2 separate regions of the Homo sapiens genome follow, and region 2 is linked to region 1. The links are contacts of gene promoters, found by promoter capture Hi-C in blood cells and fetal thymus (Javierre and others, 2016). All regions are on one chromosome and are shown on one strand. The core of a region is centred on a gene start or on the middle of the fragment in contact, and the rest is flanking DNA. Distances in the headings are between cores, read along the strand shown. Region 1 holds the start of FMO4 (flavin containing dimethylaniline monoxygenase 4). Region 2 overlaps MROH9 (maestro heat like repeat family member 9).

The links. Contacts are between HindIII fragments. The CHiCAGO score rates a contact against its expected background, and 5 or more counts as called.
Region 2: a fragment that was not itself captured here is called in contact with the fragment with the promoter of FMO4 in region 1 in 3 of 17 cell types (naive B cells, non-activated CD4 T cells and total B cells); the score reaches 5.9 in naive B cells.

Annotation. Positions count from the first base shown.
Region 1 is chr1:171,311,712-171,316,424 of GRCh38, reverse strand. FMO4 (flavin containing dimethylaniline monoxygenase 4) reads right to left here and starts at 2,242. Exons shown (of 10, transcript NM_002022.3): 1 at 2,012-2,242; 2 at 98-239. The HindIII fragment of the contact is 2,730 bases long and covers 938-3,667 here.
Region 2 is chr1:170,955,938-170,960,650 of GRCh38, reverse strand. It overlaps MROH9 (maestro heat like repeat family member 9), which reads right to left. Exons shown (of 22, transcript NM_001163629.2): 4 at 2,111-2,190; 5 at 1,054-1,189. Among named protein-coding and RNA genes, the nearest start is that of MROH9, 23 kb to the right of the region's middle. The HindIII fragment of the contact is 1,584 bases long and covers 1,907-3,490 here.

The sequences.
Region 1 (4,713 bases), core at 993-3,492:
CCTACTTGTCTCCTGTCTTCCTTCTCTTCTCCTTGGAAAAGACAGTTCATACAGATAAAATGTATCAACAAGTTTGGAAAGGAGTAGGCAGACATACCTGTGTTTTCCTTTGAGTTGAGGAGTAGGAGGTTTAGACAGCTTCTAATCAGAAACAAATGGCCTCCACCAATAAGAATACTTGAATTTCCAGGCCACTAGGTAGAGGCCTGGGGCTGGCAGATCTTTGCTGTGCTCTATCTCTGCAATCATAAGGTAAAAAGAAATGACTGCTAACTGAATTGCCAAAGTGAAAAATATACTGACGTGAATAGACTGGAAGCAAATTAATTCATTCAACAAATATGCCCTGGGTACCTCTAAGTGCAGGTCCTAAGCTAAGTATGGGGCCCTGAAGATAATGAAGACCCTGCAACTAAGAAATAGTAGTAAAGTCTTAGAATTTAAAAAAGACCGTGACTGCTCTTAAGATGTTGTATATGGAGAGGCTGATACTACCTTGTGCTAAGTCCTATGGTAGCAGCATGCTCTAGGCATGAATGCTTGCACTCTCCTGGCCTGTTTATTATCCCTGTCTAGAGACCTAGTTAGTGACACAGAGTGGCCTGTGGGGTTAAAAACGTGCTGGGCAAAAGCACTTTAAGGACTGACTTAGAGACTCTACAGGCAGTAGAAACAAATTGGGAATTAGCACCTTTTAAAATTAATCCGTATTTACAGACTATAAATTTCTGAATGGGAGCAACCTTTTTAAATTTTGCCTTGAGTCAGTAGAGGAAGGTAGTGAGTGAACTGGAAATTGAGAGATCTGAGTTCTAGTTCTGCTTCTGCCTCTAAGCAGCTTGTAACCCTGGACACAATTCTCAATTTCTCTGAGCCAGTGCTTCCACATTTGTAAAACAGAGGGTTCAAGTGGCTTTCTCTTTGTTTCCTTCAAGCTTGAAAGGACTGTTCTTATGTCTGAAAACCAAGTAATTGGTGCACAAAAAAAAAAAGATATGAATTCAAAGGTAGGCGAGAATACTGCAGGCTTGAAGGATTGGGAGAACGTGTGTGCAAACTCTGCAAACTATAAAGTGGACTTCATAAGGTACTTGGTTGCTCAAAGGTGCTTATATTTATTTATTTATTTATTTGAGTTGGAGTCTCACTCTGTCTTCCAGGCTGGAATGCAGTGGCACAATTTCGGCTCACTGCAACCTCCACCTCCTGGGTTCAAGTGATTCTCCTGCCTCAGCCTCCTGAGTAGCTGAGACTACAGGCAGGCGGCACCACGCCTGGATAATTTTTGTATTTTTAGTAGAGACGGGGTTTCACCATGTTGGTCAGGCTGGTCTCAAACTCCTGATCTCAAGTGGTCTGCCCTCCTCGGCTTTCCAAAGTGCTGGGATTACAGGCGTGAGCCACCGTGCCAGCCATAGGTTGCTTATATTTAGTCCCTTGGCAGAAAGGAGACCTGACCTATTGAACTAGACCTTTGTACAACGGGAAAACCCCACCCTATACCTGACTGACCAGCAAATGTAGGAATCCTTTATGAGACATGGAGAGACTTGGGTGATTTGCAAATCATGTAATCAATTATGATTTCTTTGAATTTGAAATTTGATCATTTTATGTTTCTTATCATCATCCTACCATGCTCTTGCTTTGTTACAGTATTTTTTTCCCACGCCATCTATGGGGTATTTGTTTCCCAATGGCTGGCATTTCCATCTCATTCATAAGATGAAATCAGAGGTCACTGGAGTCACTGAAAGTCTCATGATTCTGTTTATCTCACTGACACTTTCCTTTTGGATGGTTCTGTCCACAACATAACTTTGTTTCCTTACAACTTCCCTTTGCTTCCTGACTCTCTCCTTAATTCTCTTGCTTTAGCCCTAGTCAAGAGACCCCAAAAGAAGATAATCACATTCATTCTTAAGGAACACACTCCAAGAAAAACATTCATCTTTTGTGAAAGCAGTTTCTGGATCATTTCCCCATTAAAAAAAAAATCCAGGACACTTACCTTGGTTAGCATAGAGCAGATTCTTTGACTTAAATTATTTCTCAAAGTCAAGGAAAGTGTTTGTCTTTTTTTTTTAAAAAAGCTCAAAACCCAAATTCTTTTTTCTGAAAGAAAAATAAATGGAAAGATGACTTTTGTAAAAGTGCCCTCAGTTTAAAACAAAAGCCATTCGTCTTTTCTGTTATGCTAGTGACAGCAGAAAGTATACAGACTAAGGAAAAAAAGTTGTGTAAGAGGCAAGCGTGATACTTCCGTGATCTTAAGGGAGGGCGGAATGGTGAGTTAGAATACAGCTGTTGGATTGGCAGAACATAAACGCTTCCTGCCCCTTTACCCCACCCTCCTCAACGTCATAGTTCTGGCAAAGCCCTAAAGCTATGGGAAGCACATGATAGCGTCGCTTTTGCCATTATAGTCTGTAGAGGGCGCCAAATCACCCCAAATTACAGCTTTCTCAGCGAAACAGGAGTTCTACTTTTGGAAACAAACTTCTACACCCTGACTCTTGCTTGGATTACCATAGGAGCTGTCCAAAGGAGAAAGTTATTTAGATGACCATTACCTCATCAAGTTCTTTCATGCTTGGAGTTCTCCAACCCCAGAAATGTGATTTTAAAGTTCAGGACTTACAAGGAATTTAAGCTGTTTTGTCCTTCAGATTGGATCAGCAGAGGGAGCTGGTGAAATGTGTTTGAGAAAGCATAAAGCTATTTTTAGATATTAACCTAGGGCACAAGAAAGGTAATAATTATAGAAGCTGTGGCAGAAATAGAAAACTTAACTGTTTTTCCTTCCACTGTGTGCTTGTAAGATAATATAACAGACCATCTTTAGGACTTGTGTTTAGGGACATTTTCCAACATGGTTCACTGAACAATTTCTAAACCACATTTGCTTGTGACTACACATGCAAATGCCTACAGGAGTGAGGAGGGTAACATACACGAGGAAAGTGGGCCAGATATGATCTGACTGGAAAGTACTTTCTCTGTCTATTCAGTTCAGCTAAATGTTGCTATTTGAGAAAATGAGCCCAATATGGCAAGGCCTTAGGTTCTTTTCAGTAAAAGCTGCAAATACAGATTTTAATATAAAATCTTCTGTTGGCAGCAAATATTTTCTTTTGAAAAATATCATGGAATATTATGCAGCCATAAAAAGAAATAAGATCATGTCCTTTGCAGGGACATGGATGAAGCTGGAAGCCATCATCCTCAGCAAACTAACACAGGAACAGAAAACCAAACACTGCATGTTCTCACTCATAAGTGGGAGTTGAACAATGAGAACACATGGACACAGAGAGGGGAATGTTGTAGGGCCTGTTGTAGGGTAGGGGGTGAGGAGAGGGAACTTAGAGGAGAACAGGTCAATAGGTGCAGCAAATCACCATGGCACACGTGTACCTATGCAACAAACCTGCACGTTCTGCACATGCATCCCACTTTTTTTTAGAAGAAATAAAGAAAAAAATTTAAAAAAAGAAAAAAAAATATTGTGTCCAGAGTTAGTTCCTTCCGGTGGGTTCCTGGTCTCCCTGACTTCAAGAATGGAGCTGCGGACCTTTGTGGTGAGTGTTACAGTTCTTAAAAGATGGCACAGACCCAAAGAGTGAGCAGCAGCAAGATTTATTGTGAAGAGCGAAAGAACAAAGCTTCCACAGAGTGGAAGGGGACCCGAGCCAGTTGCTGCCGCTGGCTGGGGTGGCCAGCTTTCTCTTATTTGTCCCCTCCCATGTCCTGTTTCTGTCTTATCAGAATGCCCTTTTCTCAATTCTCCCCACGATTGGTTACTTTTAGAATCCTGCTGATTGATCCATTTTACAGAGCGCTGATTGGTCCATTTTACAGAGCACTGATTGGTCCATTTTACAGAGAACTGATTGGTGCATTTTACAAACTTCTTGCTAGCTACAGAGCACTGATTGGTGCATTTTACAATCCTCTTGTAAGACAGAAAAGTTCTCCAAGTCTCTACTCGACCCAGGAAGTCCAGCTGGCTTCACCTCTCAATACCCCCTTTAAACAGGACACCCCAACTGCTTTTGAGAATTGCGCAATGACTGCTCTAGCTACTTCCTGCTGGATAGGGGTGAAGAAGAGACCCTGAATTGTAGTATCCTCCAGAGGGAAACTCTCTAGGTATCAAAGGGCCAGTGGGTCGATCCAGGGGGTCCTTGGTAGAAGTTGTTAGTTGAGCTCATTTGGGGTTTAATTTGCAAAACCATCTGTAGCTTGATGGCCTCGATCCTGGAGGAAACAAATTGACAAAGAGCTTAAAAATACAGGGCCCGAAGGCAAGTAATAGCAAGATGGTTGTCATGAGACCTAGAAAGGGGAGAAGCCATGTTGCCCAACTCCAGAGAATGGTATAAGAATTTGAAAGGCATTGTCTGATTTCAGAAGACTTTTCCTGTAAATGCCGGGTGGCGTCTCATATTAACCCTGACTGGTTAGTGTAAAAGCAACACTCGTCCCCTAAGAAGGTGCAAAGTCCTCCTTTCTCAGCAGTGAGGAGGTTAGGCCTCAGTGGTTTTAGAGAGTCACTGCTGCCAAAGAGTCTATTTGGGATTGTAGAGTAAGGATAGATTTTGTTCTTTCTTGCAAACTGCCTGAGAAATGCTTTGAGAGTGTGTGGTAGTAGGATAATGAAGTGGATAAATCTGCTATTCCGGTTCCTGTAGCAGTGGCCATTCCTAACCC
Region 2 (4,713 bases), core at 1,449-3,948, 360 kb after region 1:
ACCCTGTCTCAAACAAAACAAAACGAAACCAAATATTGAATACATTTTATATGTAAATAGATGGAAACAGTAAGATTTATTGTTCCACACACTATGTAGGTACTAGAAATTGTATGCTATGTGGGTATTGGAAATTTCCATGTGTGAGTAGCTGATATATAAAATATATGTAACATTAATAAACATGGGGCATTTGGATGATGAAATGCTATATAACAACACATTTTTTTCTTTCTTTCTAGTATTGGAAGAAGACTTTTATTTAACTCAGAAGTTATTTTTCTTCTCCCAACTACCAGAGTGGTCTTCACCAGTAAAAAGTAAAAGTATCTCTGGGTATCCTCAGGTAGCCACTCAGGAATATTTGGAAGAAGTCCAGTTGGAAAATAATGGCACATTTGTAAAAAAATAGCAGCCTACAAATCTGTGTTAGGGATACAGGAACATAGCTGAGAAAGTTTCTACATTAAAGTCACCTTGCATCAATTGCAGACGAGGCTGAAATTCTCTGAGATGTGTATAGAAGCTCTTATAAAAAGAAACAATTAGCCTGATAGTTTTGCATCTGAGTGTTGTACATTCTCTCCACAAACTGAAGAAAGGAGAGAGGTGGCTATGCTGAGACCTCACTTTATATCATATGCCATGAATTTCTTCTCTAGCTTATAGAGCAAGTTCACTGTATAGCAATGCTGAAGAAATGGAGACCGCAGATGTTTGCTAATTTTACTATAGGATTCTTTCTACTTCCATCTTTCCATGTTCCTATTCCATTCTTTGAAGCACTTGCCAGCAAACTCCCTATTCTTGCTAAACCAATTAACCAAAAATATCTTCGCCTATTTGCTCCTACAAATCCTATAGAATCCATTAAAATCCCATGGGTTGTAGAACTCACAAGGAGTCCAGTGGTATAGATTAGTGCCCTGACTGTTATAACTAAAAAGAGTGAAGAGGAGGACCCTAAAGATTATCACCTGCTGAGTCACATTCTGCAGGATTGCTGTGATGTGTAATAACATCCTATAATGATTAAAGGAAGAAAAATTTTACCTCCATGTCCTCAATGTACTCATAACTGCTCCCCATTTCTTTTACTTTGTCAAGACTTGGCATGACAACTAGCATTCCAAAGGATGACTCTATTATCTTCAACTGAGATTCAAACTGCAGTAAGGGATCCACAAAGCTGACAAGAAAAAGGAGCAATTATTAATGATGAGAAAACAAATATAATAGAAATTTAGTGGGCTTTATTTATTTATTTATTTATTTTGAGACAGAGTCTCGCTCTGTCACCCAGGCTGGAGTGCAGTGGTGCCATCTCGGCTCACTGCAAGCTCCACCTCCCGGGTTCACACCATTCTCCTGCCTCAGCCTCCTGAGTAGCTGGGACTACAGGCGCCCGCCACCACGCCTGGCTAATTTTTTGTATTTTCAGTAGAGACGGGGTTTCACCATGTTAGCTAGGATGGTCTCGATCTCCTGACCTCATGATCCGCCCGCCTCAGCCTCCCAAAGTGCTGGGATTAGAGGTGTGAGCCACCGTGCCTGGCCCAGCCATTTCTTAGTGATAAGCAAAAATGAGGTTCAGCTTTTGGCTTTGTATGACAGATGAGTCTTAAATATTCTCTTAAAAATGATAATAATGTTGTAAAAATAAAGGAATTAATTTCTTTGCAAATATTATCTATAAACAGTTATGTAGAAATCAGAATATATTTCTCCATAAACATAATAATGCAAAGAGTGGTTACATTCCCAGCCAAGTCCACAAAGCCATGCTAAGCTTTAAACAGTTGAGATATATTACTGACCCATTTTCTGTAATCAATGATAATATGTTTTTCACATCTTAGTATTTCTTACATTGAGATGCATCTTCAAACTGATGGCAAATGAAGCTTGCCTCAGCAGCTAGAAAGATTATCTGCTTGTCTACGCAATACAAAAAGACTGGGAAAGAGTATAAGAAAGAAATAGTAGTCACCAAATTATGATGGTGAAGTTTGGAGTAATTTCTTATCTTTCACAATTGCATGTTTTTAAAGATATAACATTTTAAATGCATCCAATTAGTGAAATAAAAGAGCATGATAGCTTATCATACCTGGAGTTCACAGCCAGGATCATGGATTCATTACTTAACAGGCCTGAGTATGCATCCAATAGGCTGTTAACTTTATGTGCCTAAGTACCATGTTAAAAAAAAAAAAAAAAAGAAGAATTAATGATTACAGAGCAGTGAGACTCATAATAGCATGTGCACTTCTTCCTTTTACAGAGACTAAAGGAACCAAATCAGACTGGAAAACATGCTCAAGAGTTCATAGAAGTGTTGAGACCAAACTGTAATTTAAATCTACAATAGTATGTTTGCCTAAGTGGAGGTCTTTTACAGTCAACCACTATGCTTATACAATTTGCATTTCCAGACAGCACTTTGTAAGGTGTGCTCTTTACCAGATGCACTTCTGTACACCACTATAACTATTAAGTCCCATCTACACAGTGTGGAGTCTACCTATAAAAATGCCAGCAGCGCCGGGCGTGGTGGCTCACGCCTGTAATCCCAGCACTTTGGGAGGCCGAGGCGGGGGGACCACGAGGTCAGGAGATCGAGACCATCCTGGCTAATACGGTGAAACCCCGTCTCTACTAAAAATAGAAAAAAATTAGCCGGGCGTGGTAGCGGGCGCCTGTAGTCCCAGCTACTCGGGAGACCGAGGCAGGAGAATGGCGTGAACCCGGGAGGCAGAGCTTGCAGTGAGCCGAGATGGCCCCACTGCACTCCAGCCTGGGTGACAGAGAGAGACTCTGTCTCAAAAAAAACAAACAAACAAAAAAAAAAAAAACAAAAAAATGCCAGCAGGGCAACTTAAGTCAGGCCTTATTAAAGAATGACTAAACTTACACTATGGAATGAGAATTTAGCCTTTAAAAGTGGTAATTAAAGGGATTCCACTAAGAATGTATCATTCTTTTTTTCCAAGAAACTGGAGAACTAGACCTCCAATAGCCAAAACAATCTTAAGAAAGAACATGGAGGTCTTACAGTTATGATTTCAAGCTATAATACAAAAGTAATTAAAATTGTAGGGACTGCTATAAAAACAGACTCATAGACAAATTGAATGAAATAAAAAGCCCAGAAATAAATCTATTAATATATGGTCAAGTAATCTTTGATAAGGGAGACAAGAATTCACAATGGGCAAAGGACAGTCTCTTCAATAAATGATGTTGGGAAAACTGAATGTCCATAAGCAAATAAATGAAATGGGACCCTTATCTTTTACCATATACAAAAGTTGATTTGAAATGGGTTAAAGACAAATGTAAAGAAGTGAAACTGTAAAACACCTAGAAGAAAACATAGGGAAAGAGCTTATTTACATTAGTTTCGGTGAAGATTTTTTGGATATGACGTAAAAAGCACAGGCAACAAAAGCAAAATTAAACAAGTGGGACTACATCAAACTAACAAGCTTCTGCACAGCAAAGAGAACAATTAATAAAATTAGAAAGACAACCTATGGAATGGGATAAAATATTTGTAAAACATAAATCAGATAAGGGGTTAATATCCAAAATGTATAAGAAACTCATGATTCAATGGCAAAAAAAAAAAAAAGCAGATAATCCAATTACAAATGGGCAAAAGACCTGAATAAAACTTTTTCCAAAAAATACATACAAAAAGCAGTCCCTCTGAGAACTGGAACAAGACAAGGATGCCCACTCTCACCACTCCTCTTCAACATAGTACTGGAAGTCCTAGCCAGAGAAATCAGGCAGGAGAAAGAAATAAAGGGCATCCAAATCTGTAAAGAAGTCAAACGGTCACTGTTTGCTGACGATGTGATCGTTTACCTTGAAGACCCTAAAGACTCCTCCAGAAAGCTCCTAGAGCTGATAAAAGAATTCAGCAAAGTTTCCAGATACAAGATTAATGTACACAAATCAGTAGCTCTTCTATATACCAACAGCGACCAAGGGGAGAATCAAATCGAGAACTCAACCCCTTTTACAATGGCTGCAAAAAAAAAAAAAAACAAAAAAAAAAAAGGAAAGAGAAAAACAAACCAACAACAACTTAGGAATATACCTAACCAAGTAGTCAAAAGACCTCTGCAAGAAAAACTGCAAAACACTGCTGAAATAAATCATAGATGACACAAACAAAAGGAAACATATCCCATGCTCATGGATGGGTAGAATCAACATTGTGAAATGACCATACTGCCAAAAGCAATCTACAAATTCAACGCAATCCCCATAAAAATACCACCAACATTCTTCATAGAATTAGAAAAAAAAATTCTAAAATTCATATGGAACCAAAAAAGAGCCCACATAGCCAAAGCAAGGCTAAGCAAAAAGAACAAATCTGGAGGCATCACATTATCTGATTTCAAGCTGTACTATAAGGCCATAGTCACCAAAACAGCATGGTACTGGTATAAAAATAGGCACATAGACCAATGGAACAGAATAGAGAATCCAGAAATAAACCCAAATGCTTACAGCCAACTGATCTTTGACAAAGCAAACAAAAACATAAAGTGGGGAAAGGACACCCTTTTCAACAAATGGTGCTGGGATAATTGGCTAGCCACATGCAGGAGAATGAAACTGGATCCTCATCTCTTACCTTATACAAAAATCAACACAAGATGGATTAAGGACTTAAATCTAAGACCTGAAACTATA